Linked DNA regions of Homo sapiens: region 2 is linked to region 1. Evidence: promoter capture Hi-C in 16 types of primary human blood cells and fetal thymus (Javierre and others, 2016). All regions are on one chromosome and are shown on one strand. Each heading gives the region's core, a stretch centred on a gene start or on the middle of the fragment in contact. The rest is flanking DNA. Distances are from core to core; before and after follow the strand shown.

What was found. Contacts are between HindIII fragments. The CHiCAGO score rates a contact against its expected background, and 5 or more counts as called.
Region 2: a fragment that was not itself captured here is called in contact with the fragment with the promoter of IFNAR2 in region 1 in 12 of 17 cell types (neutrophils, naive CD4 T cells, naive B cells and 9 more); the score reaches 11.1 in neutrophils.

The regions. Positions count from the first base shown.
Region 1 is chr21:33,226,921-33,233,453 of GRCh38, forward strand. IFNAR2 (interferon alpha and beta receptor subunit 2) reads left to right here and starts at 3,018. Exons shown (of 9, transcript NM_001289125.3): 1 at 3,018-3,296. IFNAR2-IL10RB (IFNAR2-IL10RB readthrough) reads left to right here and starts at 3,018. Exons shown (of 13, transcript NM_001414505.1): 1 at 3,018-3,296. RefSeq lists silencers at 2,835-3,294, 3,355-3,414, 3,435-3,484, 4,707-4,896. The HindIII fragment of the contact is 6,332 bases long and covers 144-6,475 here.
Region 2 is chr21:33,341,303-33,347,835 of GRCh38, forward strand. It overlaps IFNAR1 (interferon alpha and beta receptor subunit 1), which reads left to right. Exons shown (of 11, transcript NM_000629.3): 4 at 1,966-2,120; 5 at 2,233-2,374; 6 at 3,944-4,058. Among named protein-coding and RNA genes, the nearest start is that of IFNAR1, 20 kb to the left of the region's middle. The HindIII fragment of the contact is 3,215 bases long and covers 2,073-5,287 here.

The DNA of each region.
Region 1 (6,533 bases), core at 1,768-4,267:
TGCAGGGGATTTAGGAGCTCTAGGCAGGAACCAGACCATATATTTTTCTATGAAAAAACAAAACCCTTAGCATAGCGATCATCATGATTTTAAATTCCTAGTCTGATTTGCAAATTCTCTGCCATCTCCGAGTCTTATTTCTAAGCTTGCTTTGTCTCTTCCAATTGTGCTTGGTGTTGTCTGCCTTTCAGCATGCCTTGTAATTCGTTGTTAAAAACTAGATATAACATATCAGGTCATGGGAGCTGAGATAAATGGCCCTTTAGGATAAGGTGTTAGGTTTATCTGGCTAAGAGTTAGGCTGTGTTAAATGTTTGCTGTAGTTGTAGGTGTCAGAGGCTTCAGTTTTATTTAGTGTCCTCATTTTTGTCTCCTCCATTGTCTTTGGGTTTTCCTAGAAATGCCTTCTTAAATGGAGTTGTAATCCACCGTTATTATACTACAGAGTCCTGTTGATGTGGTGGTAAGATACTGTGGAGGCAAAACATTCTACAATCTTATGATTAATTCCCAGAGTTTTCTTTAATGGGCCTGAGTCTCTGGGCTATGACCCTCCGAGAAGTTTCTTAACTTTTGCTTTTTTCCTCCAGTCATGATAGACAGGAAGGCTAGAGGGGGCTGAGTTGTCTAATTGCCCTTCTGCTAGGTCAGTTTAGGCTCCAGTAATGTAATTGCCCTGAGGACAGGTTTTTGTTACAGAACACTCTGGGCATATCTCAAAATGTTTACTTTTCCCCTCCCACCGGCCAGTCAGGAATTTTTCTGTGGTCTTTACCATGAGAACTTGGTAGAGCTTCTTGGAGTAAACCTTTAACAATTTGGGGAGCATCCCTCTAAGACTGAGTACCCAACAGTGTTTAATTCTCAAGCTAGTCCACACTCAGTCTCCAGCAATTAGTCAATTACAATTTAAGTTTTGCTATGATTTCAGAGGCTTCTGGTCCCTGTAAACTGTGATTCTTTGCATTTGTCTGTCTTTCAGTTTTTGCAGTTTGCCCTGTGACTCAATTCACTGATACTGAAACAAGAAGAGTTGTTAATCTTCAATTTGTTCAGCTTTTCTCTTGTTGTGGGGAGTGGAGTGACAGCTTTCAAGCTCTTCACACCTTGGCATAGACTGCATTTGCTTTTGTTTTGTTTTGTTTTTTGTTTGTTTGCTTGTTTTGAGACGGAGTCTCGCTCTGTCGCCCAGGCTGGAGTGCGGTAGCGCAATCTTGGCTCACGGCAAGCTCCACCTCCTGGGTTAACGCCATTCTCTCGCCTCAGCCTCCTGAGTAGCTGGGGCTACAGGCGCCCGCCACCACACCTGGCTAATTTTTTTTTTTTTTTTTTTTTTTTTTTGGTATTTTTAGTAGAGACGGGGTTTCACCGTGTTAGCCAGGACTGCATTTGTTTTTTAAAAAATCTTTTTCCTAATTATATAAGTAAGGATGTTTACTGTAGAATGTTTGGAAAGGAAACAAAATAAAAATCACCTACTATCATCCAATCTGCAATAAGTCATAGTTAAGGTTTTGACATAGTTTTATTTTTAATATATATGTTTATATAAAAGAGTGCATGCAGCACATGGAGTTTGGTATTGGATTTCTCCCATTTTCAGAGGCTATTTCTGCAAATTCTCTAAAACTGTGGCTGAAAATATTTTCAATGTTGAATGTCTTTTATAAGAAATAGGATCCTAGATAAGTTCCCTTCAGATCGTATGGGGCTGGTGGGAATTCTGCCAAGGGTCACATAAGAGGCAGGACCGTGACATCCTCTTTATGATCACCCTTGTGCCTAGCCTTAAAGGAGTATCAGCAAATGTTGGTTGACTTCATAGATTAAAAGGCTCATTTTTCCCATCTACAAAAAGTATGAAACATCCTCCTCCTCCCTTTCCTAGGAGGCCAGAAAGCTGAACGAGAGATTAAATACTCAGTTAAAACAATTTAGGTGGTTAGTGTATCTTTTCCCTCTCCTTCAAAAAGATATTAACATTTCCATTTTAGTAGCTGTAATGTTTAGAATATACATACATTTTACTTGAAAGCTGCCTCATAGTCTATTTTGGTTTTGGATTTTCTTTTTTTTTTCGTTTTTCTTGAGACAGAGTTTCGCTCTTGTCTCCCAGGCTGGAGTGCAATGGTGCAATCTCAACTCACTGCAACCTCCACCTCCCAGGTTCAAGCAATTCTCCTGCCTCAGGCTCCCAAGTAACTGGGATTACAGGCGCCCGCCACCACGCCCAGCTAATTTTTGTATTTTTAGTACAGACAGGGTTTCACCATGTTGGTCAGGCTGGGTCTTGAAGTCCTGACCTCAGATGGTCCATCTGCCTTGGCCTCCCAAAGTGCTGAGATAACAGGTGTGAGCCACCGCTCCCGGCCTCATAGTCTATTTTAGAAGTTGACAGGCTATAAATAACAAGCAGACAAATTAATGAAGAACATCTGTCTTTCTGCCTATCCCGAAACACGTTGATCAGTGGGGGGTCGAGGGAAGGGTAGGAGTATGGAGAAGAGACCCGCGGAGAAGAGGGGAGAATCTACAACGGATAATGTTGTAGATATTTACAACATTTACTCAATGGTAGGTATTTTTATCCTCGTTTTACTAGTTGGAGAATTATATCATGCAGGTTTATACAATTAACAAGTGGGGGAGCCAGGAGAGAACCCATTCACTCTTTAGTTCATTCATTCATTCAGTCAGTCAACACATCTTTGGGTGTCTTCTAAATGCCAGGCACTATTCTAACCCCTAAGGATACTTCAGTAAACAAAACAGTCCCAAATTCTTCCCCTATGGAGCTTTCTCGGCGAAGGCGGGATTGGTTAGGAGCTGACAATCGGCAGCAGACGATTGTAAATGACCGGACCTTTTTTCTATTCTCCTGCCCAGCCCCCGGCCCGGCCTCCGCCTCCGGCCCTGCTCCAGCCCCGCCAGCGGCCCAGGACCCGCCCCTGGCTCCGGCCCCGCCCCTGGCTCCGCCCCCGCCCCCGCGCCGGCGGCGGCGCGGCGCCCGCGCTTCCGTATCGCTCCTCGTAGGCCGGGGCTCGGCGCGCGCACCCGCACTAAAGACGCTTCTTCCCGGCGGGTAGGAATCCCGCCGGCGAGCCGAACAGTTCCCCGAGCGCAGCCCGCGGACCACCACCCGGCCGCACGGGCCGCTTTTGTCCCCCGCCCGCCGCTTCTGTCCGAGAGGCCGCCCGCGAGGCGCATCCTGACCGCGAGCGTCGGGTCCCAGAGCCGGGCGCGGCTGGGGCCCGAGGCTAGCATCTCTCGGGAGCCGCAAGGCGAGAGCTGCAAAGGTAACGCAGCGTGGCGGGGTCGCGGGAGCGGAGCGCGTGGCCAGCTGACTGGAGGGAAAACGCCGCCTCCCTGCAGCGGTTCCCGGAATCCCCTCCGGTTCCCTCTCGCTCTCCCCGACTCCTCCTCCTCCTCCTGCCCTCCCTCTGCGTCTTGAGTATGCGGCTAGTGCGCCCTTCCTCTCTCCCGGGGCCGCACCTGCGACCCCAGGACCCCTCCCGGGCCCTGTCCTGCGCCCTCCACGCGTCGCCCCTGCTGGGAGTCCGCTTTCGTTGCACCCCTCCGCGTCCCACCCCACCCCACCAAGGATGCCCAGGATACCGGGCATTTGCCACTGCAAGATGTGAGTCGTTGCTAAGTTTGAGGGTCACATTCCTCCAGGTCCACCCCGCCTTGCAAAACCGGCTCACCAGCTGGGTGCTCAGGTTCGGGATCTCCAGCCCGCCCCCTTGAGGTCCCCTGGGATTAGCCCCCCTCGACCTGCGTCAGGGTCACAGACTGCAGCCGGGGCTGGAGCGGCCTACACCCCTCCGGATCCGCTGCGTGGAGGCAGGAGGGGGAAGGGGCGAGGGGACGTGGCCGCGGAGACAGAAGGGTGCACCCTCCCAGGGTCGGAGAGGGGAGATACTGGGAAGATACTCCGCGAATATGGAGAGGCGATCGGCACTTGCATTTCAACCCTGAGCAAATCAATCCGTTACACGCAGTAGCGAGTTGACTCCATCAGCCCGTTTATTTGGTTAGCGATGGTTATATTGACTCTGAGTATTCCCACCTCCTTTCTTTTAACATTTTTTTTTTTATTTCCTTGTTTTGTTTAGCAAGAAGTCTTAGAAACGAATATAGCATGCTTGGGCGTTGATTCAGTGGTGAGAAGTGCCGGAGCTGGCTCAGGGAGAGGTGGAGTTTCCCATGTGTGCTCACTGGCCCAGGGGCTAAGTCCCACTGCTTGCCAAGGTTTCTCAGTATCCTGTCCACCCACCCCCTATCCACCTGTGCAGGCTTGAGGGGGTGAGGGGGTAGCAGATACTCTATCAAAATCTACCCTAAGGAAAATATTCGATAAACACTCCTAGCAATTAGGGCATAGCTGATAAGGCTTGATCTGTTTGTCGCAGAAAATGACTTGAACTTGTAAGTTCTATTGTTCATAAAGTTGTTTTCCACAATTTTAGATAATCAAAAATGTACATGACTCATTTTTCTTACCTATTATTTCCTCTAAAGTTTCTCATGTATTTATTGAAAAGTTAAAGAAAATCTGATTTTGGTTCACATAATTTGACAATGGTGATTTGTCTAAAAGTCATTTCAAAAAGTAGTATGAAAAGGATCATAACCCTAGAGGTACTGTCATAGACGTGAAACATTTATTAAAATATATATTCCATGGCTCACACTTGCACACTCAAAGCCACATTGGACTCATTTTTTCTGCTACCTTTATAAACCTTCAAACTGTTCAAGAGTCAATGGTATGTATCATCTTCCGTTATCAATCATCATGTTTTGTTTTGTTTGGTTTGGTTTGGTTTGGTTTGGTTTTTGACAAAGTCTCGCTCTGTCGCGCAGGCTGGAGTGCAGTGGCACTGTCTTGGCTCACTGCAACCTCCCCCTCCTGGGTTCAAGCGATTCTTCTGCCTCAGCCTCTTGAGTAGCTGAGATTACAGGCGTGTGCTACTACGCCTGGCTAATTGTATTTTTAGTAGAGATGGGATTTCCACTATGTTACCCAGCCTGGTCTGGAACTTCTGACCTCAAATGATCCACCTGCTTTGGACTCCCAAAGTGCTAGTATTACAGGCTCAATCATCATGTTTTATCAAAGCTAAAACCCAAACTAAAATGCCATTGCTTATAAGATGCACTTTCATTTTATGTAATGAAGTAAGAAAAAACACTGTCAATCATGCTATGCCATGCCACCAGAATGAAAGCATTCTGATTTCAGAAATTCTCAAATGTTAAAAGAAAATGGGCATTTTATAATTTGTGAAATATTAGTGAGTTAGAGCAGAGCTTGACGGCACTGGCCCTGAGGGTCCTTCTTCTTCCTTTGGAAGAATGAAACTGGGGGCTATGCAATTCAGGGAAGAATAAAGGAAAAACAGGTAATTGGCAGAGGAGGTTGGCTGACTTAGAGGTATGGAAAAGACAAAACAAAGGAGGGAAAAAGAGAGGTATGTATGATGGGGAGGAGTTCAGAGCCACTGAAAATTTTCTCTGGCCCTAACAGGAAAACGAGTTACCCCACAAGCCAGGGTTTTATCATCTGGTACGTGGAGATATCCATCAGCATTGTCATTGGTTTTCATTTGTTTGTTTTTAATTCTCAAGTTTAAAAAAAAATTTAAAATTTAAATGTGTCTCAACCACCAGAAACTATAGTGAGATTTCTCTGTAATAAATAGGAAAGAAGGAGACTGATCCAGTCCTTGTTAAAAAAAAAAAAAAGAGGAAACTGAATCACAACATACTTTGCTTTTTTCTTTTCTCACAAAGGAACAGTGGGCCCTTTATGCTGGGTGAAGGTGAGTGAGATGGGGGAAGGTTCACTGGGCACCAACCTTCTGGGCTAGAGAAATTGCCCAGGCTTTACAGAACAAGCTGGAATCAGATAAAGTTGTGGAAAGGAAGTCGAGGTTTCACTCTGCCATATCAGTAGGAGGTACTAAAGCCAAACTAGTAGCAGCAAAGTGAACAGAAATGGTAAGGGGGAAAAATAGGAAAGGAAAGAACAACGTGGATTGCAAGACGTCTTACTAAAAACAAAGAATTACACTTGGAACAGAAGAAATTCATTACCATTGCCTTACACTGTGCAACAACTTGATAAAAATATAAATCCAATAAAACAAACTCAAAGATGAGAAAATTGTAAACTGGAGATGAAAAGGGAGATTGCAGACCTAAAGGAAAATTGAAGACCGTAAAAACATAGTGACAGAATAAATAAGTCAGGAGAAAGAACAGAAGCAATACTGCTGAAAATAAAAGTATTTTAATAGAAGAAAGCCCAGTAAGGAAGCCCAGTAAATTCAACTGAAAAGGGACAAAGATTAAGAAGAAAGAAGCTATTATGAAAGACAAAATACAATCAAGAATTGGGACCACTGAAGTCCCAGATGTAGAGAAGTCAACAAATGGGACAGAAAATTCAAATAAAAATAAGTCCAAAGAAAGCTTATTGAGATGAAGAAAAAATGGTCTGTAGGCCAAAGGAACATGCCATGTTCCAG
Region 2 (6,533 bases), core at 2,430-4,929, 120 kb after region 1:
CTATATCTTCTTCCTGCTATGGCTCCATTTGTCCTACTTTCCCTGTAGTAGTGGTTCTCAAAGAGTGATCCTCAAGGCCCTTTCAGGGGGCTGTAAAGACAAAGCTATATTTATGACAAATCTAAGACTTAGTTGCCTTTTTAATTTTTGTTCTTTCTTGTATTCACAGTGGAGTTTTCCAGAGGAGGCTGTTTGATGTGTGATGTGGTGATATGGTCACTGATTTAACATAGAATTCAATGTGAAATTCATCTGCCTTCTTTATTAATCCAAACATTCAAAAGATTTGGAAAAAAAATGTAAAACAGCACCACTCTGAAGTTTCTATGTTCCTTTTGGCAAATGTTTGTTACCATAAAATAGGTTTATCATTGTTATTTCTTTCTTTTTTTTTTTGAGACAGAGTTTTGTTCTTGTTGCCCAGGCTGGAGTGCAATGGCACAATCACGGCTCACTACAGCCTCTGCCTCCTGGGTTCAAGTGACTCTCCCGCCTCAGCCTCCCGAGTACCTGGGATTACCAGCATGCATCACCATGCCTGGCCAATTTTGTATTTTTAGTAGAGACAGGGTTTCTCCATGTTGGTCAGGCTGACCTCAAACTCCCAACCTCAGGTGATCTGCCCACCTCAACCTCCCAAAGTGCTGGGATTACAGGCGTGAGCCACCATGCCCAGTCCATTGTTATTTCTTAATGGATTAATTAGTTAAAATGGATTGAAAACTTTACCAGTTTTAATGTTTAATATGCTAATATAAAAATATACAGCCCACATAAATAATGGCTGTTTGGGATTCTCGATAATTCCTTTAAGAATGTAAAGGAGCTGAGTGTAGTGGCCCACACCTGTAATTCCAACACTTTGGGAGGCTGAGGTGGGAGGATCACTTGAGGCCAGAAGTTCAAGACCAACCTAGGCAACATAGTGAGACCCCATCTCTACAAAAAATATATAAAAATTAGCCAGGCATGGTGGTGCACACCTGTAGTCCCAGCTATTCAGGAAGCTGAAGAGGGAGGATCACTTGAGCCTGGGAGATCAAGGTTGCAGTGAGCTGTGTTTGTGCCACTGCACTCCAGCCTGAGCAACAGAGCTAGACCATATCTCAAAAAAAAGTGGGGATCCTGAGACCAAAAGGTTTGAGAACCACTGCCCTGTACCAAGAATGATCTGTACTCCCTTTCTATACTAATCTTCCAATTCCCTGTCAGCCCTCTCCATTCAAATTCTGTTCCTCCTCACTTAAAACCACTCTTTTTGGCCAGGCGCGGTGGCTCACGCCTGTAATCCCAGCACTTTGGGAGGCCAAGGCGGGCAGATCACGAGGTCAGGAGATCGAGACCATCCTGGCTAACACGGTGAAACCCTGTCTCTACTAAAAATACAAAAAAAAAAAAAAAAAAACTAGCCGGGCATGGTGGCGGGAGCCTGTAGTCCCAGCTACTCGGGAGGCTGAGGCAGGAGAATGACATGAACCCGGGAGGCGGAGCTTGCAGTGAGCCGAGATCGTGCCACTGCACTCCAGCCTGGGCGACAGAGCGAGACTCCGTCTCAAAAAAAAAAAATAAATAAACCACTCTTCTCAAGGTCACAGCAGCCTCCACAATGCCAAGCAAATTCCCAGTCCTCTTCTGGCTTCATCCCTCTGTAGCATAGATGTGGTCATCACTCAGTTTTTCCTTTACTGGATCTCTGGGACACTGCTCTTTCCTGGTTCTCCTCCTGCTCATTGATCGCTTCATCTTCCCAACTTTTCAGTGTTAGACTGCTGCTGGGCTCAGTCATTGAACCTCTTCTCTTTCTGTATCACTCCACTGGTGATCTTACAGCTTTCTATCCTATCTGTATGCTCTTAACTCCCAGAAGTGGCAGGCACATATTAAGTGCTCAGAATTATTTGTTGAATGAAGGTTTTGGCATTGTATTAATAAAGTTCCATAGTAATTGTTTTGATTTTTTTGCAGCTCAGATTGGTCCTCCAGAAGTACATTTAGAAGCTGAAGATAAGGCAATAGTGATACACATCTCTCCTGGAACAAAAGATAGTGTTATGTGGGCTTTGGATGGTTTAAGCTTTACATATAGCTTAGTTATCTGGAAAAACTCTTCAGGTGTAGAAGTAAGCATTATTTTTACCTCTGTTTAATCGATGTGAGAGAAAAATTAGGCGAATTAATCCTAAAATTTGACTTTATACTTTTTTAAAGAACCAACTTATATTTGTGTTATAGGAAAGGATTGAAAATATTTATTCCAGACATAAAATTTATAAACTCTCACCAGAGACTACTTATTGTCTAAAAGTTAAAGCAGCACTACTTACGTCATGGAAAATTGGTGTCTATAGTCCAGTACATTGTATAAAGACCACAGGTAAGGAAGATGTTTTGTTTTAGATTCAATAAATATATAAACAGATTGTCAATTTTGGCATCTTCCCCATATTGCTGAAGTTTACATGATAGGTCAATATATGTTAAAAACATTGTAACATTTACATAAGCAAAATAAATGTTACTTGGGATTTTTGTCTCAAATAGTAATGAAAATTAATTCTACTTAAAAGTTCAGGCTGGGCGTAGTGGCCCACGCCTGTAATCCCAGCACTTTGAGAGGCTGAGGTAGCTGGATCACTTGAAGCCAGAAGTTCGAGAACAGCCTCGCCAACATGGGAAAACCCCGTGTCTACTAAAAATAATTAGCTGGGCGTGGTGGCTCACGCCTGTAGTGGTAGCTACTTGGGAGGCTGAGGCACAAGAATCCCTTGAACCTGGGAGGTGGAAGTTGCAGTGAGCCAAGATCGCGCCACTGCACTCCAGTCGGGAGCAAGGGGGACAAAGAGTAAGGCTCCGTCTTAGAAAAAAAAAAAAGTTCAAATATTTTGTAATGACAAAACTTTTCATTTGTTCAGAATCCACATGAAGCAGGAGGTAGCTGAACTATGAGTTCTGCAAGTGGGAAGAAAAGGTGGGGAAGTAGTTGCTAGTAGACAAGTTATTGTTCAAGAAAGCATACCTTTGTAAGTGGAATGTTAAAATATGAAAGTATCCTGATACATTTAGTAACATCTTTCCAATAATTAAGGTCAAGGGCAGGAGCTGGGATTTGTTTATTTTAATTGTAAATTTCATATGCTTTTTTTTTTAATCAAACATTACGGAAGGGTTTAAAGTGAAGTCTTCTTCTCCCTTCTTATCCCCAATTCCATTCACTAGAGATAAGCATTGCTTAGCAGTTTGTGTATATCCTTTCACAACTTTTTTCAGGATTTATGTAAGCATATACACAGACCCACAGTTTCTTGGGTTTTGTTTTTTAAAATTACAAAATAAAATCTTACTAGAAGTATTTTACAGCTTGCTTACTTAACCCAGTGTGTTGGGGATATTCTATATCACTCAATACAGATCTATTACGTTCTTCATTTGATCTTAGCCATCTATTGCATTCTTTCTTTTTTACTTATTTATTTATTTATTTATTTATTTATTTATTTATTTTTGAGACAGAGTCTCACTCTCTTGCCCAGAATGGAGTGCAGTGGCTCAATCTCGGCTCACCGCAACCTCTGCCTCCCAGCTTCAAGCGATTCTCCTGCCTCAGCCTCCCGAGTAGCTGGGATTACAGGCGTGTGCCATCATGCCTGGCTAATTTTTGTATTTTTAGTAGAAATGGGGTTTCACCATGTTGGCCAGGCGCGTCTCGAACTCCTGACCTCAGGTGATCCATCCACCTCAGCCTCCCAAAGTTCTGGGATTACAGGTGTGAGCCACTGCGCCCGGCCTGTAGTCTTTCAAATGGCTGCATAGTATTACATAGTGTGAATACAAACCATATTTAACTATTACCTTATAATGATAAAATGCGAGCCTTTATCTTCTTGCCAGTTATCTCACTTGAGTAAAAATGTGTGCTTTTTTTTATCTGTTCTTTGGCTTCTAGTTGAAAATGAACTACCTCCACCAGAAAATATAGAAGTCAGTGTCCAAAATCAGAACTATGTTCTTAAATGGGATTATACATATGCAAACATGACCTTTCAAGTTCAGTGGCTCCAGTAAGTTCCATTCCATAAATTTCCTTTTGCCCAGTTTGTTTTGATTATGCTTCTTTTCGCTCTGCATCAGTCACCAGGTCCTTGCACACAGAATGACCGACTGGGAGGTGGGTACGATATATTGGAAACGTGAGAAATCTCATTTCTAACCCCAGTTCTGCCAGTAACTAACTGGATGACATTGAGCTAATCGCTTAACCTCCATGGGCCTCAATTTCTTCACTTGTAAAATAGATGGATTCTAATATCTGGGGTTCTTACTGGCTTAAGAAAAAAAAGAAAGTGTAACTAGTTGCATGTGTTATTTCCCCAATCTGGAAGACTCGACAGTTGACCCTGATCTTTTTCTAAGAACTCACTTCTTCCATGAGTCCTTAAAATGATCTCAGTCCACTCACTTGTTCAATTCAAAAAATTAGCCTTCCTATTTTCTTTATTACTTTAGTGGTTTTGACAAAATTTTGTAGTAGATACTTCGGTGGGAAAGAAAGTTGGAAAGAACTATGTTCTATGTGGTTGAGCAGAGGCTAGCTAAACATGGATGAAGTCCAGGCGCTGCATAAATGAAAGAGAACTGGCCTGGTGCAGTGGCGCATGCCTATCGTCCCAGCTACTCAGTGGGCTGAGGCAGGAGGATTACTTGAGGCCAGGAATTGAGGCTGCAGTGTTGTATGATCACACCTGCTAGTAGCCGCTGCACTGCAGCCTGGGCAACATAGTGAGACCCCCATCTCTAAGCATTAAAATTTTTAAAAAGCTGATAAAAGAGAACTGCATGTAGTTTATATTGATTGGAAAATTGTAGGAGATGAATAGAGAAAAGAGAAGAGGAAAATTAAGTAGAAGGAAAAATGGGTTATGGGGAGAAAAGAGATGGAAAGAAAGATATACATTGGTGGCAGAGGAGTAGAGAGAGCAAAGGCAAGTATAGCTAAGACAGGAAAGGAAAAGTCAGAAGAAACTGGAAAGAAACAGAAAAAATGAGGGAGAAGGGAAGTGTAAGTACCGCTATGATCAATTTCTATCTTTTAGTGTTAATTTTGAACCAAGGGTGACTGGTAGAATGCAAATGCATTTATGTGCATATGTGCCCCACAATGCATATATAACCTCACAAACCAATCAGGAAACTGTTCAGTAGTCTTTTGTGTATACCTCACTTTCAGAAGTGAATAAATAATAGGGTCACCAAATAGATAATGAGAGGTATTTCTGATAGCTGATCTCTAAGCTTCTTTTGGGTACTTACCATATTGTACAAAGCACTGAAGAAATGGAAAGAGTCAGCAGAATCAAACGTGGTTCAAAAATTGAAAGCAGTTAGCCAACATTGCAAAGTGTTGTGTGGTTTAGGACTAAAGAGTGGTATACAAATTATAAGGGTTGCAGAAATTGAAAATGTAAAGGTGAATAGGGGCTAAAGAGACCAAAGAAGCCATAAGGAAAGAGATAAGGTATGAACAAGGCCTTGATTGTTAATTCAGATTTTTTTTAAGTAGACAACTATTAGATGTTAGTTTTCTGTGTCTGTAACTAATTACCACAGACTTAGCAACTTAAACAGCTGTTTATTGTCTCAAAGTTTCTGTGAGTCAGGAGTCCAAGCGTGGCTTAGCTGGCTCTTCTGCTAAGCAGTCAAGGAGTCAGTCATTCATACAAGACTTGGGGGCCGCTCCCAAGCTCACATGTTGTTGGCAGAATTTATTTCTAGAGCTCATGGTGGCTCACTTCTTAGAGGCCATCAGGAAGGGAGAGTCTGACCTCTAGATCCTTTTTTTTTTTTTTTTGAGACGGAGTCTCACTCTGTCACCCAGACTGGAGTGCAGTGACATGATCTCAGCTCACTGCAACCTCCGCGTCCTGGGTTCAAGTGATTCTTCTGCCTCAGCCTCCCAAGTAGCTGGGACTACAGGTGTGCACCACCACACCCAGCTAATTTTTGTAGTTTTAGTAGAAACGGGGTTTCACCGTATTGGCCAGGCTGGTCTCGAACTCCTGACTTCAGGTGATCCACCCGCCTCAGCCTCCCAAAGTTCTGGGATTATAGGCGTGAGGCACCGCGCTCAGCCATTTTTTTTGTATTTTTAGTAGAGACGGAGTTTCTCCATGTTTGCCAGGCTGTTCGCAAACTCCTGGCCCCAAGTGATCTGCCCACCTCAGCCTCCCAAAGTGCTGGGATTAGAGGCATGAGCCACCATGCCTGGCCTAGATCCTCTTTTAAGGGGTTCATCTGATTAGGTCAGGCCCACCCAGAATAGTCTCTCATTTGATTCAACTGATTTGGGACCTTAATTACATCTGTGAAATACCTTCTCTTCTGCCACTTAATGTAACCTAATTATGAGAGGAGGGCCTCCATCGTATTTACAGGTCCTGCCCATGCTCAAGAGGAGGGGATTATACAGGATGTGTACACCAGGGGGCAGGAATCTTGGGGGCCATCTCAGAATTTTGCCTTCTCCAGTGGGGAGGATG